2 separate regions of the Homo sapiens genome follow, and region 2 is linked to region 1. The links are contacts of gene promoters, found by promoter capture Hi-C in blood cells and fetal thymus (Javierre and others, 2016). All regions are on one chromosome and are shown on one strand. The core of a region is centred on a gene start or on the middle of the fragment in contact, and the rest is flanking DNA. Distances in the headings are between cores, read along the strand shown.

Evidence for each region. Contacts are between HindIII fragments. The CHiCAGO score rates a contact against its expected background, and 5 or more counts as called.
Region 2: a contact is called between a fragment that was not itself captured here and the fragment with the promoter of DHX15 in region 1, in 1 of 17 cell types (total B cells). The highest score is 5.7, in total B cells.

Annotation. Positions count from the first base shown.
Region 1 is chr4:24,581,480-24,587,295 of GRCh38, forward strand. It overlaps DHX15 (DEAH-box helicase 15), which reads right to left and starts at 3,075. Exons shown (of 14, transcript NM_001358.3): 1 at 2,844-3,075. The coding sequence starts at 2,914. RefSeq lists silencers at 2,334-2,383, 2,584-2,663, 2,674-2,793 and an enhancer at 2,974-3,513. The HindIII fragment of the contact is 7,218 bases long and covers 555-5,816 here.
Region 2 is chr4:20,696,702-20,702,517 of GRCh38, forward strand. It overlaps PACRGL (parkin coregulated like), which reads left to right and starts at 3,757. Exons shown (of 9, transcript NM_001258345.3): 1 at 3,757-4,086. RefSeq lists an enhancer at 3,870-3,989. The HindIII fragment of the contact is 2,624 bases long and covers 2,006-4,629 here.

The DNA.
Region 1 (5,816 bases), core at 1,825-4,324:
AAATGTTCACCAAAAACTGTTATCCAAAGATGGAGATGAAGATTTTAGGGAATGCCTTCTTTAAACCTTTGAGTATAAACATTTCTTATGTTCCCTGTGGCAAGTTCATTTAACCTCATCTACCATACAGGATTGTAGTGAAAATGTGCATGCTCCACAAATGTTATCACAGTATTAATACATTAGCTTTACTTTCCCATAATTAACAGAAAAAACTCTTATCAGGTGGTAATATCAAAAACCAACATCAAAATGAAAAACGCCCCTAACATCGAAAACTTTTTTCCATACTTCAACAGTAAGTATGGAAAATTATTACTTTCGGTAATTGTATAGTGAAGATTCTGTGGGTTGACAAAAAGAAGAAATGAGGCCAGAATATGCAACAGAAACCTATAATAACTTCACCTGATTTCAAAGTTAAAATATGCCAGGAGTAAATAAAGCCTTATATAGTTTGGGAGCATTAATATAAGTGAAATCTCCCACTGAATTACCTTCCCTTCTCAGTACTGCAGAAACCCTATCTGGCAGTGGAGTTTGTAAGACTGACAAGCTTATGCTCTCCAATAAAACCACTTGCTTATCAGGGAAAAAAAAAATCTGCAGGATTGCATGGCAGTCAACAAGTGACTTAAAATTATCGAGTATGAAAAAATTCTGAGGCCGATAAACACCTTAAGTCCACTGTTAAATAAAACCAGTTCAAGGATAAATGGCACTCAAATGACATAGAAATGAGTATAAAAACTTCCCTCTACTATTTCTTATAACTTGGGCATTATTCCAAAGATGAACTCTCCTTTATCCATAGGCAAATTCTAAATAATATACAAGGGAATCATAAAGCTACCATTAGACTCCAAAAGTCAACCTTTTTACTAAGGATATCTGTTTTTGCAAGAGAAAGTAAACAATCGCACATACATATGGTGGGACCACTAATCCCAAGGGGAACATTTTAAATGGTGCACATATGCACAAATACAAATGAATTCATTCATTCCCTCCCAGAATATTTTGTTCCAATCTGACCTCCTGTGAGAGACATCAGTTCCAGATGACAGCAATTTATTTTTGCCTTAGAGAAATCAAGAACTAAGTGTTCCCTACTTTACCAACGCATTATAAATGTCATTAAAATAGGCTGTAATGACTCTTAACTACAGTACTGAACTGTGTGCTGCTGAGTGAAAATGACAAAGGCAGGGTTCCAGATCCTGCTGTAAACTTGCACAAGCCACCTTAACTCTGTTCTCCACTTCTCATTCCTTGATTGGAGCCGCGTATAGTCTTTTTTAAGTTGCTTCCAGCTCTGAGTCTGTGACATACAGCTCAGAGGTATTAACGTTTTGTGGGGCGTAATGGTGGGGGAGGGTGATAGCCTAAAGAGAGTCTGTCTTACAATGTCATTGTCTTTTTTACAATGCCTAATATCGTAAACTAAATAACTCACAAAATTAAAATGTGACATGCTTTTGCTTTCTATTGAATAATTCAACATATGGCAAAGCCTCAAAAAGTACACCCTATCCTGGCTTATACTCTACAATGACACTAAACATATCCCTGGAAATCAATTTCAATGAAGAACTTTAGCTGAAAAATTCAAAACAGCTATACAGGTGACTTGACACAGTGATTCTGTATCACAAGTACACAATAAAATGATACAATTATGCAAAGTATTTGGCTACTCGGGCTTTTGTGGGTTTTGCCTGAATTATCCAAACAGGTCTTTGTACTTCATCAATGAAAACACACAAGGGACAAGAAATGATTTTCACGAAATTGCTTAAATTAACTGCTAAATTCCTCTGTACCTTTAAGGAAAGGAATCTGGAACACCAAGAGTTTGTGTAAGTATTTCAACTCTCAACCTCCACATGGGCGGTGTTTCGCCATAAATACTAAAAACACGTTTTGAACATGATCCCTGTATTTCAAAAGCTACTTATGAAGAAAAGTGGGACATGCATAGAAAATAAATGATGAAAAAAAAAAACAATGCCTTCTAATCCCTCCCCATGGGACGATGTTCAGTAACCAGTTTTAACCAAAGCAGGAAATACAGGAGATGGCGGGAGCGTAGGCAGAGAGCGGAAGTTTGCTAGTATCTACTTTGAAGTGTTTGAATGGACCAAGGCACGCTCTCTCCCGCCAAACTATAAACTCAGTCGCCCCAAAACACCAGCCTTCCAGCCCATCAGGTATATTACTCCACGTTTTCCTTTCTCCCGGCAGGTCCTCTACTCCCACCTCCCCCGAGAACTCCCTATTTGCTGGCTTCTCTCAACTCCCGCCACCCCCATCCCAGCCTACATTATGATCCACGCGCTGCTCTCACTTTCCGCCCTCCGCCTTTCCCGTCTGGAGTGCCTGGCCGCGCCCCCACCCAGGCCCTCCCCACGGCCCCTCTGGCTGGGAAGTGCCTGCTGCCCTTGGAAGCGAATACTCCCACCGCGCCCTCCCCCACCCTCTCCTCCGGCTCCAGGCCTTCCTCGGGAACCGAGGCCACGAGGTCCGCGGTTCACTCCCGCCCGACGCCCTCGCAAATGACTCCCGCTCGGTTCGGCCTGGGGGAGGAGGCGCCCTCATGGCTACTGCAGGCCTCTCCACCCTCCGGACTGGGCTGGGCAGCGGCCCCGTCGCACGCAACCCCCCGCGCCCTTGCCGGGCCGAACGGGCGCCGCGCTTCTCCTACCCGCCGCTAGTGAACCCAGCCCAGAGAGAAACAAAGGCTCGGGCTCCAGGACCCGCTCGGCCAGGCCAGCCCCGGCCCGCTCCCTGCCAGGACCCCAACAAAGCCCGAGCTGCCGCCTCGCGCCCCCGGCCTGGCTTACCCATCGGTCCCCGCACGCTTCTTGCCAGAGGGGTAATCCTCCCCTAGGTCCAACCGGTGCCGCTTGGACATCCTCGCACTCTTCGAACGGGCAGTTATTAAGGAAGAAAGCTGGCTGCTGTATGGGCACAGTCGAGGACAGCCACTTAACTCTGGAGGACCCCCACCCCTCCCGCTACTACAGCCCACACGGTGCGGCCGGAACCAACAGCTAAAATGGCGGCGGCGACGAGGGCTGGGCCTGCGCGCGCGCGCGCTTCCGCAGCGTGCGTGCGTGCGAGTGTGCGTGTGAGCGAGGTGCGCGCGCACGACGCCCAAAGGCGGGAACTCCTGTCCCGCCCGCTGCCTCATTGGTCCGACCTTTCTTGGGTCTCCTCCCTCTTCCTGTAGCTTTCCCCTCCTCGGAGCGGCTGTTAGGAAGAACCTGAAGGCCTTCACTTTCCATTTCAGGCTATCCTTGCCCCTCTGAGTCAAGAAATTGAGAAAGTCTAGTCCTAGTTAGGAAATCCTATTCATTTCTATTACCCCGGCTTTAAGGGAATCTCAGACCCAGAGAGGTTGAGAAACGAATGAAGATCGTACAGCTAATAAGTGGCAGAGCCGGGATTGGAACCCAGCTATTTAGTAACTCCAGATCTGGAACTTGCGGCCACTGCGCTACCCTCAGTTGCAGTGAGGGGCCGCGCGATGGTTCACGCCTGTAATCCCAACGCTTTGGGAGACCGAGGCGGGTGGATCACGAGGTCAGGAGTTCGAGACCAGCCTGGCCAACACGGTGAAACCCCGTCTCTACTAAAAATACAAAAATTAGCTGGGCGTGGTGGCGTACGCCTGTAATCCCAGCTACTCGGTAGGCTGAGGCAGGAGAATCGCTTGAACCTGGGAGGCGGAGGTTGCGGTGAGACGAGATCACACCAGTGCACTCCAGCCTGGACGACAGAACAAGACTCCGACTTGAAAGAAAAAAAAAAATCAATTGCAGTGAGGAAACTGAAGTGAGAAAATGTTAAGGCTTGTCATGATCTATTTTGCCCTTTTCTTGCCCAGCACGGACACCATGCACCCAAGCTATAGATGTTTTTAACTAGAATACAGAGAATTCGCAGTGAGGGCACAATTTGCTTTTTTGTTTTTTGTTTTTCTGTGCCTATTAATGCACTTTCGCAGTGTTAAATAACACCCTGCAAGGTAGTTGTTATTTTGTAGACGTAGACGCAAAGGCTGAGGAAGGTTACATCTCCTAGCCATAAGGGCTGTACCTAAAGCCATAACAAGGAGGTGGGGCAAGATGACTCTAAGGATTTTTGTGGATCTCTCCCCCTAGAATATGTCTGCTTCCTCAGTTGCATTTGTTCCCAGAAGAAATGCACAAGAAAAGATCTGTGGACCATCTGCAGCAGGGTGATCTCTGTTGTTCATGGAATGGCTTGGTTTGGCTGCCCTGGAAGACCATACTCTGGTTCTTATCCAAATCTCAGGACTGCAATTGCTAGGATTAAATGCAACTTAAATATTGCAACTGATGAGGGGTTTGTGTGTTTGTTTTGAGACAGTCTTGCTCTGTCGCCCAGGCTGGAGGACAGTGGTGCAATCTCAGCTCACTGCAACCTCCGCCTCCCGGGTTTAAGCCATTCTCCTGCCTCAGCCTCCCTCCTAGCTGGGATTATAAGCGCCCGCCACCACGCCCGGCTACGCGCCCGGCTAATTTTGGTATTTTTAGTAGAGACGTAGAGACGAGGTGTCGCCATGCTGGCCAGGCTGGTCTTGAACTCCGGACCTCAAGTGATCTGCCCACCTCGGCCTCCCAAAGTGCTGGGATTACAGGCGTGAGCCACTGCACCCAGCCAGCAATTGGTAAGGAGGGTTTTTATTTTTTTGTACCAAATCCACATTGGAAAGTCAACACAAAGAAAAATGAGTATATTTTTCACTTGTGAAATATTCAGTACAACTTTCTATCCTAAATGTACCATAGTCCCTACTTTGTCCCTGGTTTTGCTTTCACAGTACAGTAAGATATTCTGAGAGAAAGACCACATTCACATAGCTTCTATTACAGTATAGATTCTCCTTGACTTATGATGGGGTGATGGCCATCGCAAAGCCATCGTAAACTGAAAATGTTGTAAGTTGAACATGCAGTTAATATACCGATAAACCCATCGTGAAGTCAAAAAATCTGGTCAAACAATTGTAAGTCAAGACTGTCTGTATGTTGTTATAAATGTTTTATTATTAGTTGTTAATATCTTACTGTGCCTAATTTATAAGTTACACTTTATCATAATTACATATGTATAGGAAAAAACTGAAATTAAAATGATGAGTTGGCCTTCTATTATCTGTGGGTTCCTTATCCCTGGATTCAATCAACTGCAAATCAAAAATATATTTTTCTTTAAAAATGGATGGTTGCATCTGTATTGAACATGTACAGACTTTTTCTTGCTCTTATTTCTTAAACAATACAGTATAACAGCTATTTCCATAGCAATTACATTGTATTAGGTATTATAAGTGATCTAGTGATGATTAAGTATACAGAAGAATGTGCATAGGTTATATGCAAATACTGTACTATTTTATATCAGACACTTGAACCTCCACGGACTTTAGTGTCGGCAGTTTCTCCTGGAACCAATCCCTAGTGGATACTGAGGGACAATTGTGTTGACTTTTTTCAGATCATGATGTATAATCACTGGATTCCATCTGATTTTTCTCTTTTTGCTTAATTTTACAAATGAGGGAAACTGAACCCCTAGGTCTTATTGAAGTTCACACAATCAGTTGGTATCAAAGTCAGAATAAAATACAGATTTCACTTGAAGTATTAAAATCTCAGTCTTCAGGTTTCCAGTTTGATGACTGCTATAAAGTGCTCTAAAATTTTGGAGAAATAATCAGGGAAAAAAGTTAGAATTCTACCTGCAGAAGTGCTCCACTCAGATGTCAGCCTCTCATAAATGATGAA
Region 2 (5,816 bases), core at 2,068-4,567, 3.9 Mb before region 1:
TCATTCTATGTTTGCCCAACTGTCAGTGGCCATAGCTTTCTGTACTGTCCAATACAGTAGCCACTAGCCATCTGTGGTTATTGAATATTTGAAATGTGGCTAGTATGGATTTAAATGTGCTATACATGTAAAATACACACCAACTTTTGAAGACTTAGCACAAATAACAAGAATGTAAAATATCACATTAATAGTGTTTATATTTATTCCAAGTTGAAGTGATAATATTTTGGACATATTGGGTTAATAAAAATATACCACTAAAATTACTTTCACATGATTCTTTCCACCTTTAAAAAATATGCCTACTAGGCAATTTAAAATTGTATTATGTGACTTGCATCACTTTTCTATTGGACAATGCTACCTTATATGCTCACTCATGTTGATTTCATTTGCTTTCACCTGAGGAGCCATTATCACTGCTTAATTTGTTCCATGTGCAAGCGGACACTCAATGACTTTATAATGATGATGTCTAACATTTCCTGACAAAGTGTGCTTTGTCAAATTGTACAAATTTCTTGTATCACATTTCTCAATGATAGGACTTGGGAATAATCATTGGGAATGATTGCTTTGTCTGTAATTTGTACAAAAAGGCAGAGATTTTCTTTACAAGAATTAAGACAATATTTTCTTAAAAATGCTTGGTGACTTAAATGTAAGTAAATAAATAATGAATAATTTTTTCACAAGTCAATGAGAACCAGCACAATGAGAAAAAAAATCGTCCTGAGTGGTTTACTTTGGTTAGATTTATTACCTAACTCATAAGGTTATATAATATGGAGTAACAAAAATAGGGCAATTTGAAGAAATTTTATTTATAAAGGTACAGGGTACCACACAGACAGTGCAGTAACCTAGAGATAGTAGCCTCTGAGATTTTGTGCCTAGAACTGAAGTTTGCCATTTAGAAAGTTTTTTAGTCTATTTGGGCTGCTATAGTGAAATACCGTACATTGAGTAGCTTATAAACAACAGAAATTGATTTCTCATGGTTCTGGAGGCTGGAAAGTCCACATCGAAGTATCAACAGATTCAGTGTCTGGTAAGGGACTACTTTCTGGTTCACAGATGAAATTGTTTCACTGTGTCCTCACATAGTGGAAGGAGTGAGTGTTCTCTCTCAGGCCTCTATTATTAGGGCACTAATTCCATTCACGAGTGTTCCAACCCTATGACTTCATCGCCACCCAAAAGCCCCACCTCCAAATACCATCACCTTGGGAGTTAAAATTTCAATCTATGAATTTTGGAGGAACAGAAACAATCAGACTATAGCAGAAAGATGTGATCTTCACTTATGGGTATGACCAGCTTTAGGGAACCCCCTAAGGATAGGAGCAGGAGAATGAATACTCTGACTTCACTCTCCTCTAATTCTCTAATCTCCTATTAGTGTTCTTCAGTAGCCAAACCCAATCAGAAACCAGAGGGCACTGGAGCCTGGGTGATATAGTTTATGCTGATCAGCATCCCAGAGCAAATAACAGGACAAAGGGAAGAGTGTACCTATATGAGAGCAAACAGAAAATATATGGCATATTCTGTCTTTTCAGAATCATTTACTATATTGCTAGGCAAATAGGTCACCTTTTTTCCCTCATCCCATTCTCTCTTAAATAGAAAATTAAACCTTAAAACCTGAATAGAAGACAAAAGTCCACAATCAGTGCTCTGTTTCTCACATATTGTGAGCTTTCCTAGAAGGTATTACTCCTATCGCCCAACTCAGCGTCTACATATGCTGATGGCTCAAAAATCCATAGCTATGCCCAGTTCTCTTTCCTGCCCTCTAGATGAGCAGATCCAACAGCATGCTAGTTAGCTCCCCCTGGATGCCTCACAGGCTTGTCAAACCAGTGTATTCAAGAAAGCACCCACCACTTATTGCATAATATCCTGATAGAGTTGCAATGCCAAGGAGCATGTTTTCTGTTCATTTTCTAAAATGATGACAGAAAGTTTAGAAGAGGCTGTTTTAACTGTGATTAGGAGAAGCTTATACTAATTGTTATTATAAAGATCTGAAAAATCCGTGTCATCGTCCATGGTTCATACACCAACACATAGCATGAGACTTTTGCCACTTACGATGTCCTCCACGTTAGTCTTAATTTGCTTTCACCTGAATAATTGCACTAGCTAATACTTATTGAGTACTTCCTATGTGTCAGGTATTCAATTGTCCTCTTAAATTTAAGTCTCGCAATAACCCAATAATGAAGAGGAAATTGAGGCTTGTAGGAGTCGTCATCCACAAGGACTCATAGCTGATAAGGGGTGGTGAGTTTTAGATAGCTTAACTCCAGAACACATATGCTTGTCATTCCTCTGCGATACTGAATACAAATCATTCTTATAGTCCAGGGAGGAGGGGTTAAAAGGTCACGAACTAGGAGCTCTACTGAGTCTGACACTGGAGATGCTAGGAGTAAGGAAAATATAATAAGTCTTGAGGAAGCTGGAGATGAGAGATTATAAAGTAAAAGTAGCTGAAGATACAGGATATAAGATTTTTTTTTTTAAAAATTTCTTTTTCCTTTTAAAAACGTTAGTTAAGCATGCATTGCGCTAGGCATTGGGGATAGAAAAGCAATAAAGACAATTTCAGTCTAGTGAGAAAGATAGGTAAATACATTATAATAAATTTTAAAACTTAGATTTGTATGCAAGGTTCACAGAACATTAGAGAAATTAGACATAGACAGAATTTATTAATTCATTTTATTCATTCAGAAGACATTAGTTGAATACCCACTGCATTATGCTTGAAGCTGGAGAAATAAAAAGGGCAAAGTTAAAATCCTTATCCTGAGGAAACTCACAATCTAATGAAGATGCTTCTGGGGTGCTGGTCAAGTAGCAAGGATGGAGCTACAGGAGCACAGAAGGATTACACAGCCTCGAGTGCTCAGACAATGCCAATTTAGTGTTACCTAAGCAAAAAGTTAGGGCTTTGGGTTGGCAACAGTAGAGGATGCTAAAGAGGAGTGCAGTGGACAGGTCCAAAGGGCTTGGACTTAACTATGACAACCCAAATTGTTGCTGGTGGAATGCAATACAAGGGAATATGCATTTTCCTGCAGCATCAGTTTTGTTATGATGTGGAGCATAAAATCGTGCTTTTCACTATTAAATATTTTTACTATTAAAAATAATGTAGAGCACAAAATCGTGCTTTTTACTATTTAAATGCGGATATACTGTGAAGAATGCAATAGCATATGAGATTCATAAAATACGACAGGAAACGAATTTCCACAGCTAGGCTTATGATTTAGCCAGATAGAACAGGAAACTACAAGAAAATCCCACAGCTGGGCATGCAGATGGCTTCGGCTCTCACCCCTGAAGACTCGGGGGGAGGAGTTCACAGTCTTCAGTTCTCCGAGTATTGAGGGTAAGATAGCTGAGGAACAATGAGTATTAAGTGTGCGAGAAAAGCGTTTAGGAGTTAAGCACATGGACTGAAGAGAGGCTAGGGCGCAGGCGACTGGGAACCCGTCATCGTCCCTCTGCTCTCCGGACCTCTTATTCGAAAAACATCCTCCACCACGTGCCCCTTTGTCGCCAGAGACAGCGCCTGCAGTGCGTGAGCTGCCCCCTGAACTCCTGGCGCCTGGTTGCCTGGGCAACCCTCTTCTGGGGCGCCTCCGCGACCTCTTACCATTGGTTTAGACGACGCAGCGTGCGTCTGACGTCATTGCGCGGCGCGACCAGGTTCAGGGGCGGGCCGCGCGGAGCCTCATTTCCCCAAACGCAGGCGCTCGGTGGCGGTAGCCGCGGTTGTTGGCCGACCGAGTGCCGGTCATAAGCCCCCCCCGGTGGGGGGCAGCTGGTGTGCGGATCGCGGCGGGAGAGAGGCGCGGTAGGAACGGGTCCCCGGAGCCGTGAACCGCGGGTACAGGTGTCCTGTCTGCGCTCTCTGCCAAGCCGGCTTGCTTCCTGATCTGTTGCTAGGGCCGCTGGACCCCGTTGCTAAGGACCCTTGAGATCGTGAGCGCTTGGAGTGTACCCCTCCTTTCCTGGGGTAGAGGGTCAGTCGAGAGTAGCCTTCGTTAACCTTAATTGAAACTGGTAAACTCCTCCCTCGGCCCCTTTAAAAAATCTCTGTTTTTTCTTTATTTTTTTTCTGTGTCTTCCTCTTTTGCTGACTTTGATAGCATCCTGGCTCTGGACTGGTCTTTAAGTATCTAGAAGTGAGTGTAGGAGGGGTGGCTGGGAAGGTGGAAAATAGATTCTAAGACCCCTAAGCAGATTGTGCGACCCTAATACTGGCCCTTTGAATTTACTTTCTGGTAAAAAAGGGACTGGGATAAGTGACTATTGGGCTCTGGGTCTTTTAGAATTTGACAGAGCTTTACAAATGGAACATGGTTTCTTTAGTGGGGCTCTTACTTACACGTTTGGAACTTTCTAGACCTGGATTAGAAAGCAGGGCTCTGCTGACTGAGAATTGTTTTAGTTCAGTGGTCTTAAAGCTGAGTACGGGAGAAAGTACATACAGGGAAAGAAATAGGCTATATCAGCTGCCCAAACAATGATAGAAAGTACACTTTCCTACCATTGACACAGATACCGGCAGTCCCTTGTAGATAGATGACCTGTAGCAACCAAGGAAGCTTTAAGGGGAATGTGTGGGCTTCATAGGGTGGTTTGTTTGCTTTCTGATATTGTGACATAGTTTAGGTGTTCGAAGTTAAGTGGATTTATGGATTCTAATATCTATAATTAGAATGTTTATCTTGTTTTGTAAAAGAATGAGCGGTGACCTTGATAATATTTGTAACACAAAATAGTTCTTACAGGTTCGCTTCTCCCCATCACTGCCCCTTTACACCATCCTCTACATGTTATTTAATGAAAAACCACTTGAAAGGGTTACCAAGGATAAGATTTTTAAAGCTTGCTTTCACAAACAACTCATGCTCCAGGCTTGTCAGTGGCATGCTTCCAGGTGGATATTATTTTAAAAAATTGACTACATTTCCCGTCGTCCCTTGGTGTCCGTGGAGAATTGGCTCCAGGACTCCCTCCCTCCCCCCAGTCTCTTTCAGATACCCAAATCCACCCATGCCAAAGTCCTCCAGTCTGCTCTCCGTATCCGTGGTTGGGTCAAATCTATAGATGTGGAACCCGCATATACGGAGAGCCAACTGTAATTTGTCGTTAAGGTAAAGGATAAAAATTTTAAGTGAAAAAGCAATTGTTTTGGAAGGAAATTCTCTAATACAGGATTTTGAAAGGGGATGTAGACGTGTTTGCATTACTGTATGTTTAATGCTGAAAATTATATATTGTACATAAAAGTTGTCCTGTATACTCATAAACTGTAGAAGCTCGATTTTCTACCATGTTTAAAACTTTTTCAAATGAGTTTTGGTGACTTTTTGAACTCATTCAAAATATAATGCAACACCTCCCCATTAGTTTGTTACAGGAACAACTTTTTGACGTGAAGGAAGATAGAAATTTAGCCATAAAATTCCATCCAAAACTTCCACTGAATTGGTAGGTAGTATTGAAAAATGTGCATCATAATTTGATATGGCTGCCTGTGCCCTTGTTATGTTTGTGGGTACGCGTCTTTGCTGTGCATCGCTTTTATCTGTTGCAGCTGTTAACAATTGATGATCAAGAGAAATTGGACCTCAGCTGGTCTTCAAATTGATGTAGCCCAAGATGTTAAGCCAGATTTTTTAAAAATGACAAAACATGTGGTTTCACTATTAGTAATAGTAATACTGAAGAACACTTTGTACCATTGTAAAGAAAATTATAATAATAGCTAAGACTCATGTGGCCCT